Linked DNA regions of Homo sapiens: region 1 is linked to region 2. The links are contacts of gene promoters, found by promoter capture Hi-C in human tissues and cell types (Jung and others, 2019). All regions are on one chromosome and are shown on one strand. Each heading gives the region's core, a stretch centred on a gene start or on the middle of the fragment in contact. The rest is flanking DNA. Distances are from core to core; before and after follow the strand shown.

What was found. The method cuts DNA at HindIII sites, captures the fragments that hold promoters and counts their contacts. A contact is called where the count stands out against the background at its distance.
Region 1: a fragment that was not itself captured here is called in contact with the fragment with the promoter of TULP4 in region 2 in 4 of the 25 tissues and cell types used here (dorsolateral prefrontal cortex, hippocampus, mesenchymal stem cells and 1 more).

What each region holds. Positions count from the first base shown.
Region 1 is chr6:158,420,016-158,422,919 of GRCh38, reverse strand. The region is part of intron 2 of TULP4 (TUB like protein 4); the gene reads right to left. Among named protein-coding and RNA genes, the nearest start is that of SNORA116, 98 kb to the right of the region's middle. The HindIII fragment of the contact is 7,401 bases long and covers 1-2,904 here.
Region 2 is chr6:158,310,937-158,313,903 of GRCh38, reverse strand. TULP4 (TUB like protein 4) reads right to left here and starts at 1,439. Exons shown (of 14, transcript NM_020245.5): 1 at 1-1,439. The HindIII fragment of the contact is 2,154 bases long and covers 875-2,967 here.

The DNA of each region.
Region 1 (2,904 bases), core at 301-2,800, 110 kb before region 2:
GCCTTCCGGCCCTTGTCCCAGGTGTTCCTGGCAACATGGCCGCCCCCACATATCCCCACGTGTGTGGAACATCCTTGGCGTCCTGCATTTGCATATTTAAAGGCTGGGGTGGGAGGGCCAGCGTTTTCCGCAGGCTACATGGTGAATCACATGCCTGGTCAAACCAATCCCCTGAGCCCTATGCAAATCTGACATCGCCTCCTTCAGCCTCTGCATATAGACCTGGCTGGTATCCACCGCACTTGGGGACCTCCTCTTTCGGCTTTGGAGCCTCCTCTCCCTCTATCTCTGTATGGGGGAGCCTCTTCCTTCTGCCTTCCGCTTCCTTCTTGTCTATTAAACTCTCCGCTCCTTAAAACCGCTCCACATGTGTCCGTGTTTTGTCTAAACTGGCCTGAGAATTAAGAACCCTGGTGTTCCTCCACTCACTGGAGCCGTATCACTTATCTCTGATTCATCTAGAGTTAATTTTTATGCACGGTGTGAGGTAAGAATCAAGGTTTTCTTTTTAAAAAATACAGATATTCAGTTGTTTCAGCACCATTTGTTGAAAAGATTTACCTTTCCCCCATTGAACTACCTGCATCTTATAATTTACGTTTGGTTACCTTGTAATCTCTATTTATAGCTATGCCCAATTTTTCATTCATAAAATTGTTTATTTCTGTGTTCTTCTCTTGATCAGTTTTGCAAGACATCTGTCTATTTTGTTGATTTGTTTCCAAAGAACTAATTTTTGGATTTGTTGATCTCTACCTTATCATTTTTCCCTATTGTACTAATTTTCACTTTCATTTTTATTATTTCTTACTTTTTCTTTCATTGGATTTACTCTCCTTTTCAATTAATAATATTTTAAGATAAATACCTATCTGACCAATGATCACAGTTTTATTGCTAATATAAGTAATTAAGGATATACATTTCTCTCACAGCACCACTTTAATCATATCTCACAAATTCCGGTATACAATGAAGGACTAAATTCTTATTCTTTTACCTTGCCCAAATTCCTATCTAAGGGGTCTGGGGAGTCATGCCCTACAAATCATAAACTCTCATCACATAGGTTGGGTTTTATTTAACACTATATATCATGATTTACTTTCCAACCTCACTCTGGCGTAACATTACAAGACAAGAAAATAAAAATATTTTACCCCAAAACGTGCTTCTTTGCCATATTTTGAAATGGCCCTACAAAGCTGTTCTTTGTGGGGAAAAATTTGCATCTGTAAAGAATCTCTATTAACATCGCTAGATCTTTTGATTCCAGACCCTCCCAATTCTAAAGAGACTACCTAAAATCTGAATAGGAAACATTTGTCATCCTACTGTCTCTAAGGACAGCCACTATAAGACTGCAAAAGAACTTTGGGCTGCACAAAATTTTATTTTAACCTGAACATTATCTTTCTATCAATCCCGGGTCTTCAGACAAACTCAACCAATTGTCAACTAGAAAATATTTAAATTCACCATAGCCTGGAACCTCCCGGACCCCTTTGAGTTGTTCTGCCTTTCTGGACCAAACCAATGTATTTCTTTTTTTTTTTTTGAGACGGAGCCCCGCTCTGTGGCCCAGGCTGGAGTGCAGTGGCGCGATCTCGGCTCACTGCAAGCTCCGCCTCCCGGGTTCACGCCATTCTCCTGCCTCAGCCTCCCGAGTAGCTGGGACTACAGGCGCGTGCCACCACGCCTGGCTAATTTTTTTGTATTTTTAGTAGACACAGGGTTTCACCGTGTTAGCCAGGATGGTCTTGATCTCTTGACCTCGTGATCCGCCCACCTCAGCCTCCCAAAGTGCTGGGATTACAGGCGTGAGCCACCGCGCCCGGCCACCAATGCATTTCTTAAATGTATTTGATTAATGTCTCACGCCTCTCCAAAGTGTATAAAAACCAAACTGCGGCCCGACCACTTTGGGCACATGTTCTCAGGACTTCCTGAGGGCTGTGTCATGGGCCATGGTCACTCATGTTTGGCTCAGAATAAATCTCTTCAAATATTTTACAGAGTTCGACGCTTTGTTGACATGTTTTCATTATAATTTAGATCTAGGATTTTATAAATGTCTATTAAACATATTCTGTAAACCATGAGCTATTTAACAATATATTTTAAAATGCCTAAATAGGCCGGGCGAGGTGGCTCACGCCTGTAGTCCCAGCACTTTGGGAGGATGTGGAAGGTGGATCACCTGAGGTCAGGAGTTTGAGACCCACCTGGCCAACATGGTGAAACCTCGTCTCTACTAAAAAAAAACAAAAATTAGCCAGGTGTAGTGGCGGGTGCCTGTAATCCCAGCTACTCTGGAGGCTGAGACAGGAGAATCGCTTGAACCCGGGAGGCAAGGATTGCAGTGAGCCGAGATGGCGCCATTGCACTCCAGCCTAGGCAACAAGAATGAAACTCGGTCAGAAAACAAAACAAAACAAAAAACAGACAGGGATCTCTTATCTCGTCGTTATTAACTTCTAACCCAGTTGCACTGTGTTCAGAGATCGTGGTCTATAATCATCATGCCTGACACTGGAAATCTGTTTTTTATTTAAGTCGTAGAACAGGGATTGGCAAGCTATGGCCTGTGAGCCAAATCTGACCTGTCACCTATTTTTGTATGGCCCACAAACTGAGAATGGTTTTAAGTGGTTGAGAAGAAAAAAATCAAAAGAAGAATGATATTTTGTTATTTGAAATTACATAAAATTCAAATTTCAGTGTTCATAAATCAAATTTTAAATTTTGTCAATAAAAATCTTTTGGAAATCTGATTTTCCTCTTGTTATATGATACCTATATAATATCCTCAATTTTGGCTCCTTGTCCACAAAACCTAAAATATTTACTATCTGACCCTTCACAGAAAAGGTTTGCAGAATCCTGCCCTAGAATATGATCAAT
Region 2 (2,967 bases), core at 190-2,689:
CCCTTTAATTAAGACTGACCTGAATCTAATTAGAAGGTCAGTATTTTATAAAGATCCACCGAATGCATAGTGAAAAAATTCCTCTATAAAAGATGATGGCAGTCTTCTAAGAAAAGGTAATGCTTAAAAAAACATGGGGTCCATTTGTATTTTCAAGTTCTCAGAGGAAGAACGTGCTGATCCTTTGGAGAAAGAGCATCGTTAATTAAGTGGTGATCAAGAAACGGTTTTCTTCTTTTTACTCCACTTGGTTATTCTCATTCAGCCTGAGATTCCAGTTTAGTGTAATATGATTCCAGAGACAAAGGGTTGCAAATACATAGATTTCAAGTAACTTAAGGCTTTAAGAATCCCTCTAGCTCGAATTTTTCTCTTCAAAAGTTCGGATGCAGAGACAGAATACACAGGATCATCTTCCTTCTGAAGCCACCCTCTAGCATGTTTCCTGAACTAGACAAATTTCTGCTGCTAAAGCTGAAAAAGATTGCATAAAGGGAAAAAAAGGCACACAAACCGTGCAAAACAGACCAGAGTTTGTGCAGACAAGAGTCCAAATTTTAGGAAGAAAAACAGACTCTCTCCTTGTTGTTTCAGAACCAGAAACTTTCCACCTCAAAGCTTGGCCCTGTGTCCCCGGGGAACGCAGGGCTCCATCGGACTGCTCCTCCACCAGCCGGCGCACCCCTCAGTGCCATAGAGGCTAGAAAGAAGGCCCCTTCACTCAAGAGGCAGAATGTTCCAGCGCTCTTACAGTGGTCCCAGTGTTTGCCCTGGGTGAGTCTTAAATCCTCTTGCTGACAAAACAGAGCCACGTGGCAAGATTTTGTTTCTTTTGCTCGTCTCCCTTCTCGCTCCCCCAGTTAGCACTCCCCTTTTCTGCTCCTAAAGATCTTTTTCCATCTTGATGAAAAAAGCTAATCTTAGAATTAAGTCCATCAGGTAATCTTCTCATACGCAAGTCTTCTTGGACTTGACAGGGAAGTTAATCCCTTAAAACAAAAGCAGAAGCCAGAGTCAGATTCCCCCAGCTGTCTCCCTAGAGAGTGATAGTGTTTTGCTGATGGGTGCTTTCCTGTTCACATTCAGAGACTGTCTCCAAACACCACACCACTAGTCCAACAAAAAGAAAGCTTTGCTTGGATTTTCCTTGATATTTATTTAATAATTATTGGTTTCAATTGCTATTTTACAATATTATCCTATAGATGCAGGAAAAAAGGGGGGGAATAATAAATTAAAATTTCTCAAATACAGTTAATTAAGATAGGCAAAGGAATCAGTTCATTATTCAAACTTGTCCCATCATACTTGAACTTGCTTTCCTCTAGCCATAACCACAGTAGGAGTTACTTTTCAGTCTAGAATTTTAATCCGTCCAAATCACCAAACCCACTGAAAAATAAAGTGCAACAAACACTGTGTGAGCCGCTGCAATGTTTGAAATCACACTTCTTTCTCAGTCACCTTCTCACTTAGTTCCTTCTTTAAACTGGAGAATATTTTTGTGGTTTAATCTGCGCAAATTTTTTTTTCTTCTTTTTGCAGACTTTCTTTACCCGTGCAGACCATATGGAAAACTGGCCATTAGTGATGTATTTTTCTCCCCGGGCTCCTGAGCCCACTGGTGTCAAGTTGCTCCATCTGATTCTTAAATTAATTTTCATCAGTTGTAAAACTCTCAAGTGTGCACAAGAATGAGCCTGTCTTCCCGTGTGAATGTGTAAGTACAGAAAGAAGGTTTTAAATGCACATAGACACACACTCTTCAACTGCCATACGAAGCGTCTGCTTCCCCAGTCATTTCAGGAACCATCAGATTATTCACGGCTGGGAGGCCCTGGAGTCTTACAAATCTGTTTAAAAAAAAAAAAAGATATAAAATTTAAAAACTTTAAAACACTGGAAAATAAAGGTTTTAAGAATAATTGCTGAAACTGAAATGAGAGACCCATCTTTACACTTACATCAAATGGAGCTACTGACTGCACTGAATGGTAAAATCCAATAGTGAAAGGATACACCTCACCAGACTCAAGACAACACACAACAAATGAGAGTTCTGCCTGCCACTGATCGTTGTATTCAATTTGTCAGCAGCTGGGCACATCTGAATGAAATCATAACTGCCATTCTTCCACACTGAACTGTACTTTCTAAGAGACTGAACTCCGAATGTGAGACTCTACCCCTCCAGAGACCATGGTCGCTGTTTAAGCAGGCATCCTCAAAAAGGAGACTGAAATGACTCAGGCAAGTTATCTGGATTGATTTTTTCACGATTAATAAAAGATATTCCCTCAAGACACAAAGCAGTAAGGGCCTTTAAAACTCATTCGTCCCTGATGGCTGGCAGGTCTCGGAGCAAAGCGCAGCTGTTTTCTAAGCTTTTATGTGGTCTACCAGCAATAAAGTTCTAGAGAATCTGTCTCTAGCAAATCCATTCCATCTTCTTCCTACTGCCTGAAGTCCAGGCTGCATCACATCCTCTACAAACACGAGAACACTCTGTCCCTAACTTACTCATCCTCCCTGCCCTCCCGCCCCGCCAGTCCTTCCAGAAAGCAGAGTGGACTTTCTCAAATTCAGCAGACTCTCTCAGTCTCCTGGGGCAGCTGAAGCGGCCCAGCCCCATCCCACAGGAACTGGACACTGAAAGGGAAGGGAAGGGCCCAGGTGTTCGCATTTCTAATAAGCTCCCAAGAGATGCTAATGCTGCTGGGCAGGGAACCAGGCTTTGAGAACTACTGGCCTGTAGCATCAAGTCCCAGCAAAAGACTCTACTTTCATCATAATACTAGGACATAATTTGCCTTCTTCCGTGTTCACATTTGTACCCATGGTGCAAAATCAACAGTGGGTCAAACTGCAAGCTCTTTAACACTAATCAAGGTAGAGGTACCAACTGCACCAGTAGTCATAGATTAAAAAAAAGAAAGAAAAAAAAAGCCAGCCTCACTTAAGAACATC